Regions from separate parts of the Homo sapiens genome. Here region 2 is linked to region 1. The links are contacts of gene promoters, found by promoter capture Hi-C in blood cells and fetal thymus (Javierre and others, 2016). All regions are on one chromosome and are shown on one strand. The core of a region is centred on a gene start or on the middle of the fragment in contact, and the rest is flanking DNA. Distances in the headings are between cores, read along the strand shown.

Region 1 (3,953 bases), core at 382-2,881:
GACCTCACTTGTCGCCCACCACCGCCCCACATCGCGCAGGCCCTAGTGGCCTGGATGCTTGCTGCCCCTGGCGAACTGCAGGGAGGCTTTGCCAGAAGCCGCTCCCCTGGGGCCTGAGGGCGCACTCAGGGAGGCCCAGCCCGGGAGGCCCCGGGATCCGCGCCGGGACGCCTCTCTCCTGCCTCATCCCCACTACCAGGGGCCTGACGAAAAGCCTGCGAGGTTGGGGAGAGACCCTGGGGGGCGCCGATCCAGCCACTGGACGCGCACTCACCCCGCATCGCCACGGAGCCCACGCGTCTGCGCCAGGGCTGCGGGAAACCCACGCGCGCTGTTCAATCCGGGCTCCGAGTGACGAAAACCCGCGCTTGGCTCCAGCCGGCCCGGGACCGACGCACCGACTGGCGGACGCGCGGACAGTCTGGCTTCCTAACTAAGTTTGAAAGTTCCCTCTCCGGCGACCGAAGGGGACGCGGACTGCTTAGAGGCACCCAACCCATCCAGGCTGGGCCAGACCCGGCAGTGGGACCTGACGCCTCGGGTTCGGGGTTCCAGGCACGCAAGCCTCCATCACTGGGAATGCGCCCGGCGCAGCGCAGCTGGGACCTGGCTGGGGTGGGGGGATAGATCCTGGAAACATGGAGGAGGGAGGGTGTCCGGCACTACAGCCCCAGCCTGGAGGGACGCCGGCTCACCGCTCCCGGGAGGACACAGGCCTCGATTGGCCGCAGCCTACTCGGAATCCGAGGCCCCGCCAGGCAGTGACGGCCAATTAGTAAACTGCCCAATTAGTGTGCTGCGGCGCTGAGAAGTTAAACCTCGACGCGCGAGTGTGGATGACCGAGGTGTGGCCGTCCCTGGGTGTGACCGCGTGTGACTGTGTGGCCGTCAGGACGATCTGTGTCTGAGGCTCACCGTCCAGGGGGGTGGCTGTGTGTGACAGCGTGCGCCTGGGTGAGGCGTTGTGGCTGCGAGAGTGTGACTGTCGGGCGACTTCTTTGTGTGACTGTCCCCCGTTGTGCCTGGGTGTGACAGCGGGTGGGGGCATGTCACGGTGTGTGGGGCATCGGAGCGTCTGTGGGTGACTCGTCTGTGGCGGTGAGGCTGTTTGCGGGTGAGTGGTTGCGTGTCGTTGTGTATAAGTGACTGTCAGGGTGACTTGCGTGGGACGGCGGGACCGTGTAAGCAGTGCCTGGCCGCCTGCGTGTGGCTGTGGGTCACTGTGACGGCTTGTGAATGACTGCGAGGCTGTCAGGGGGACGCGAGTGAGGGGCCACTGTGTCGTCGCACGGGTGGCTGTCGGGATGACTTCTGCCCGCGATCCCAACAACTCAGGGCGTGAGCGTGGCCGCGAGGGGATCGATGTGAGCCGCCCGTGCCCGTCGGCGGGGCTGATGTGCGCGGCCCCGTGTGACCCCGGGAGCGCCTGAGTCCCGAGCTGCCAGGTGACTCCGGCCCCGCCCGCCGGGGACCCCCGCCCGCCCCCGCCTACCTTGCCGCCGTGGTAATAGTCCAGGTGCGCCAGGCCGGCCGGCTCGGCCCCGGGCCGCGCGCCCACCGCGGGCGCCGAGGGGTACAGGCGGACGTCCATGGCGGGCGCGGCGGCGGCGGCGGCGGCTCCCGCGGGCAGTGCCTGGGCGGGCGGCGGGTGGGAGCCAGTGTGCGAGCGGGACTGCGAGCGCGGGGGGCGGGCCGGGGGCGGTGCCCAGAGGAGCGCCCCGCCCCCGCCCCCGCCCCGCCCGCGCGCGCTATTGTTCCGGCCTCGGGCGCTGCCTAGGGCCGGGGGCCCGGGGGCCCGGGCCGGGGCGTGGAGGTCCTTCCTCCGGGCTGGGCCGCCGCCGGGTCCCCCGCCCGGCCCTGCATCCCTGAGGGGGGCGCGCCTGTCCAGACGGCGCTTTTCCGTCCCGCCTTTCGCCACCCACGGTGAGGAGAGAAGCCCGAACGGCACCCCTCCCCAGAAGTGGGACACTCCCTTGCCCTAAATATTTGAGGCGGCGCTAGTCCCCGCCCCGCGGCGTGGGTGCGGGGGGAAGAGGAAGGTGGTGACAGGACCACTTTGGAGATGGGTGCTGCCTTACCTGGGGGGACGCAGGCCAGCGCCGGAGGATGCTCTTAGCATGCCCGCCCCCTCCTCGTCTCACTGATCTGAGTCAGCTTGACAGCCCCCCCTGGAGATTGCCGCGCTTAAACTCTCACTCACATATGGGGAAACTGAGTCAAAAACTTGCAGCATCAGTAATGGAGCTCCAGGCGGGTGGGCTCCGTTGCCCCCAAAGGATCCAGAGCTGAAACCACTTGGAGAAGGCAGCAGGACCCCACCCCTTTTAATGATAGGGAGGGGAGGGCCGCAGGAATGCCTAGAGCCCGAAGCTCTGAAGAGGGGTCTAGGATCTGCCCACAGTCACGGTCTCTTGGAGTGAGGAAAGGAAGAAAATGAGATTGGAATGGGATGGCTCTGATGGTGGGTCAGAAAGGTGACTGTGAAATGGGGTTCCTCCCCAACCAAAAAAAAAAAAAAAACCCTCTAGTTCTTGATATCACTTGCTGGTTGCTAGACTGTTGCACCCCCATCCCCCTTTTCATGCAAGAATTGTCTACACTAGCAATCTCCCCTAGCAATCTCACTGCTCACTGACTGCTCCAGGTATGTCTGACTGGGAGAGGCCAGGAGGCGAAGTCAGCCAGAATGGCATTCTTGTGTGGCACCAGGATATAGGATGCCATTGGGAGAAAAGGACTTGAGCTTCCTGCCCACTCAGGAGCTAGCTTAGAACTTAGTTCTCAACTGCTGCTTGGGCTTTGCTGGTCCTGGCCTAGAACTAGGACCATAAGAAAGATGCATTAACAAAAGATAGGTGTGGGAAACAGGCATTCACTGAAGGCTTGGGAACAACAGAGGGAAATTATAGCTCAGAAAGGAAAGAACTTCCAAATAAATTTCAGCAGTCATTGTTTCTAGAAATACAATGCCACACCTCATCAGAAAAAAATTTCCATTGTCCTGTGTCCATTTTTTTCATCTGGATATCCAACTGACCAGCACTCTTTATTGAAAAGATCACCACCACCACCACCACCCCCCTACACACACACACATACTCTTCTGCAATGCTAACATTGTCGTAAATCAAGTAGTCGATATGTGCATAAGACTGTTCCTGAATTCTCTATTCTGTTCTGTTAGCCTATTTTTCTCTCCCTGTGCCATTATCACAATGTCTGGATTACTGTGGGCTTATAAGTCTAAATGTCCCATGAAATAAGCCTACCCATTTTGTTCTTTTAAGACTGCATTGGCTATTCTTGATGTTTACACTTTCACAGAAATTTTGGAATCAGCATACCTATTTATATATATACACACAAACACACTAACACAATCTTGCTGGGATTTCAATTGGTATCACTTTGAACCTTTAGATCAATTGGAATAAAATTAACATTTTCAATAGTAAAACTTCTTATCCATGAACATGGTATGTCCCTTCATTTATTTTGGGTTTTTAAAAAAGTTATCTCAGCAATGTTTTGTAGTTTTCTACGTGGAGACCTTGCACATCTTTTATTAAATTTAGCCCCGGGTGTTTTTTGTTGCTATTATGAATGGCTTCTTTATTTTATTTTCTGTTTGTTGTCAGTACAGGGTTGTTGTTTTACAACATGTCCACAAATTCTTTGACACCTTTCCCAAGAAGTAGAGTCTAACACTCTTCCCCTCGGGAAGGGATTAGTCTTAGCGAATGGGTTTTAACAAAAAGAATGTGACAGAAGTGAATCTATGTGACTTCTGAGGCTAGCTAGATCATAAAATTAATAGGGCTTCTACCTGGCTCCCTCTCTCAGGACTTTTGTCTTTGGAACACTAAGCCATCATATGAGAACTCTCTCTTAGGCTGCCATGCATTGAAGAAGCCCAAACTAACCCACACAGAAAAATCATATGCAGAGACCCT
Region 2 (3,773 bases), core at 891-3,390, 370 kb after region 1:
GGAGCATTGTCCTACATGGGGAAACTGATGACATGGGCCAGACACTGGAGATGGTGATCCTCAGACCCCATAAAGGTCCTGCTCCACTCTGAGATTCTATTTAATGCTGGCAGTCTACCAGTACACCTCCCTTTGGCCACTAGTTTTTTATATCACAGACCATGCTGAACCAAGAGACACAGCAAATGTTCCTGGGAGACACAGCCCTTGTCACAAGAAGAAGAGAATGTAAAGCCAAGCATAGGCTGGAGGATGAAACTTGGGTGGCTCTGCAGCTGGCTGAACAACTACATTCGAAGACCTGTGGTCAACCGACAGAAAGGTTTGAAACAGCGTGCCACGTGGTTCTGCCTTCTCATAAAACATGTTAAGACTTGGACAAAGACACAGAAGGCTTAGTTATCAAATGTGCAAGCTGTATGAGGTTGGAAAGCCTTATTAACATCGTAGATGACAGAATCAAGATTTAAAACAAGGCTATGAAACCAACCAGATAACATTTAATAGGGTGGATGTAAAGTTTTACATGAGGTTATTAAAAAAAAAAAAACTCAGTGGTGCAAGTACTCACTGGAAAATTTGGTTCGACTGTAGTTGACATGAAAACCACCTGGGGGCTTTTATGAACCCCAAACTAGTGTGATGTGGCTATAATAAAGCTAGGGCAAACTTAAGTTTTGCTAACAAAAAAATAGGGTTCAAATCTAGGGGAAGAGAAAATAACCCTAATGTTGACCATTAACAAGAAATTATGGTATACTCATGAAATGGAACACCAGTCAGCAATAAACAAACTACAGATACAGATAACAACGTGGAGAAGCCTCAAAAACATGACACTGTGCAGAGACAGACCTAGAAGAGTACATGCTCTATGATTCCATTTATATGAGTTCCAGAACAGGCAAAGCTCATCTATGACGCTAGAAATTAGAAAAGTGGTTGTCTTTTGGGGTGCGGACTGACTAAAAGGGGCTGAGAAAGAACTTTCTGGTATGAGGGAAATGTCTGTATCTTTTTCTTTTCTTTTTTTTTTTTTTTTTTTGTTAAATTTTTTTTGTATGACTTAACACGAGAGGAAATGTCTGTACCTTGATTGAAATGTTGAGTTCAAGGGCAGACATGTCATAAAACCTGTGAAATTGTACTTTCAAGATGTGTGCCTATCTCTCTATAGGCATTTTATCTCAATTAAAACACTTCTAGGGGAGCAGCACCCCGGTGTGTTCTATGTTGGCCAGAGGCCATCGAAAACAGGGAGTTCAGCTCTGGACACGTACATGAAGAGAAGATCACCAACACAGAGGGCAAGGAAAGCACCTGGAAGTGGGAGGAGTTTGGGAGCTCCACCACACACAGCTCAAAGGAGGAAACTGGCTGTGCTGGGCTTGGATACAGACACTCTTCCAGGGCAAGAAGAGCCAACTACTTTCTTTTTATGTTTTTTGAGACAGAGTTTCGTTCTGTTGCCCAGACCGGAGTGCAGTGGTGCAATCCCGGCTCACTGCAACCTCCTCCTTCCAAGTTCAAGTGATTCTCCTGCCTCAGCCTCCCGAGTAGCTGGGACTACAGGTGCATGCCACCACACCCAGTTAATTTTGTAATTTTAGTAGAGACAGGGTTTCACCATGTTGGCCAGGCTGGTCTTGAACTCCTGACCTCAGGTGATCCACCCACCGTGGCCTCCCGAAGTCCTGAGATTACAGGCGTGAGCCACTGTGCCCGGCCGACAAAGTTCTTTACTTAAGGACAACTATGCACTAAAAGTCAAAACTGGTGTTTATTGTGTTCCCACCATAGCAGTCATTTTGTATAGGTAAAGTGATTGGATCTACATATTCCTCCATAATATTGCTCTATTATATACTAGTGATACACAGCCATATGCTACATAAAGACATTTCTGTCAATGATTCCACATTTAAAACCATGGTCCCATAAGATTATAGTGGAACATATACAGAAACCTGATACATGGCCCTTGATATTGGCATTGCAGATCAAGTAGGGGAAATGACTGACATTCAGTAATAATGCTGTGACATTTGGTATTTCATGTGAAAATATACATGTAAATAAAAATACATATAACATCTAGGTTTGTGTAAGTACATTCTATAATGTTTACACAATGACAGAATTGCCTAGTGACACATTTCTAAGAATGTATCCCCATCGTTAAGCAATGCATGACTGTAATTATACTAGACGTTCTGGTATGATTCATTCATCATTTCCAATGCTCACAATGGCTCTGCAAGGTAGACCTCATTAAACCCATTTTATCTCCATTTTACAGACAAGAAGATGTAGGCTCAGAGACAGTAAACAGCTCAAATTGACAGAACTGGGATTTAAACCCAGACTGTCTCCAAAGCTGACATTCTTTTTTTATCTACAACTCACTACTCCTTGGCTCTTGATTTTAAGTGTGTGTTAGGATCCTTGCAGTAAATCACAATATCTGTGTCATTCAAAATACACTTTAATTATCAACTATATTGGATTAAAGGGGAAAAAAGTACACTTTAATATTGACTATCACTGGCAAAGCTAAGTTTGGCAAGCAAATGAGTGGGTAGAGAGCAGAGGAGTGAATGGACTCCTGTCTCCAGGATGCCTTTTCCTTCCTGAAGATGATCTGAGCACACAAGGTCCCCAAGCTGGGCCACAGTCCAGACTAGAGTCTTCCCAGATACATGGGTCACTCTGACTATTCTTGCCTGGTGGGGCAACACGGGTCCCTCCTTAGCAGAAGTGACGCTGGGGAGGGCACCTGCTTCCTGCCGTCTTAAGGACAGTGACCCCGGCTCTGTCTCCCACTCTGCACTTGCACCTTACCTCGTCTTTGAAGAGGCGTGCTTGGTCCTCACAACCTGTCAGGGTCTGAACAAAGCCGAAGACCTTGGAAACCAAAGATGACATGTTGACCAGGGGACAGAGCTTAGGCATGTAGGGAGAGCTGGCCTCCACAGCCTAGGTGCTTCTGAGCTGTGCCAATGCTGCTTTTTCTCACCAGCCTAAAAGGATCCTAGGGTTTCTATGCTGGCAGATGTGCCAAGTTGGGCCCCTTGCTTCTGAGGCCTGGGACCGAAGCCTGCCTCTCCTGCTGGATTTCTGGCTGAAACAGCAGCACAGCCCCCGCCCCCTCTGCCATAATGGACCTATCAGGAAGGGTCTCAGTCAGCCCCTACTGGGCAGCTAGAAGGGACTGTGCACAGGACAGATGAGCAAGAGGTAGTGCCAGGAGTGGTACCGGGTTCTACCTGACCTGGGCCTTTCCACCAGGGTATGGTGAGAGGGAGGAGGAGAGGAAGAGAAGGATAAAGAAGGGCCCTCGCTCCTCACCTCATCGATGGTCCACTTGGCGACTGTCGAGGCTGAGATGCCCGCTACTCCTGGCAGGAGCTTGCAGTGCTGCTCCCAGCACACTGAGAGTGAGCGGTCAGGGTGGGCCGACAGGGCTGACATGAAGAGGGACTGGTGCACGACATCGGGCGTGAGGGCTGGAAAGCAGAGGCAGAGGCTGGCAGGCCAACGAGGATGACTAAACTGTTCCCGAAGCCCATGCATACCCACACCACTCAGGAGACTGGCTGGCAGAGTAGACAGGACTCCGGGCCCCTTCTGACAGCCTGTAGAGTCAAGAGGGTGAGCCGTATCTCCTGACTCCTCACACAGTGTTCACTCCTGCTGGTAAAGTGACTCTCTTAAAGACTCTCAGGTCAGCTATTCGGAATGACCCTCACCCCGTCTCTCTGAGGCTGCACCAC

Evidence for each region. The method cuts DNA at HindIII sites, captures the fragments that hold promoters and counts their contacts. A CHiCAGO score of 5 or more calls a contact.
Region 2: a fragment that was not itself captured here is called in contact with the fragment with the promoter of TOX2 in region 1 in 1 of 17 cell types (endothelial precursors); the score reaches 7.6 in endothelial precursors.

Annotation. Positions count from the first base shown.
Region 1 is chr20:43,912,530-43,916,482 of GRCh38, reverse strand. It overlaps TOX2 (TOX high mobility group box family member 2), which reads right to left and starts at 1,631. Exons shown (of 9, transcript NM_001098797.2): 1 at 1,493-1,631. The coding sequence starts at 1,591. RefSeq lists silencers at 151-200, 1,391-1,480, 1,531-1,640, 1,661-1,760, 1,861-1,980 and 1 more and enhancers at 459-1,176, 1,177-1,894. The HindIII fragment of the contact is 9,025 bases long and covers 1-3,953 here.
Region 2 is chr20:43,539,884-43,543,656 of GRCh38, reverse strand. L3MBTL1 (L3MBTL histone methyl-lysine binding protein 1) reads right to left here. Exons shown (of 22, transcript NM_001377303.1): 20 at 3,349-3,506; 21 at 2,842-2,904; 22 at 1,762-2,723. The coding sequence ends at 2,529. Among named protein-coding and RNA genes, the nearest start is that of SGK2, 17 kb to the left of the region's middle. The HindIII fragment of the contact is 8,375 bases long and covers 1-3,773 here.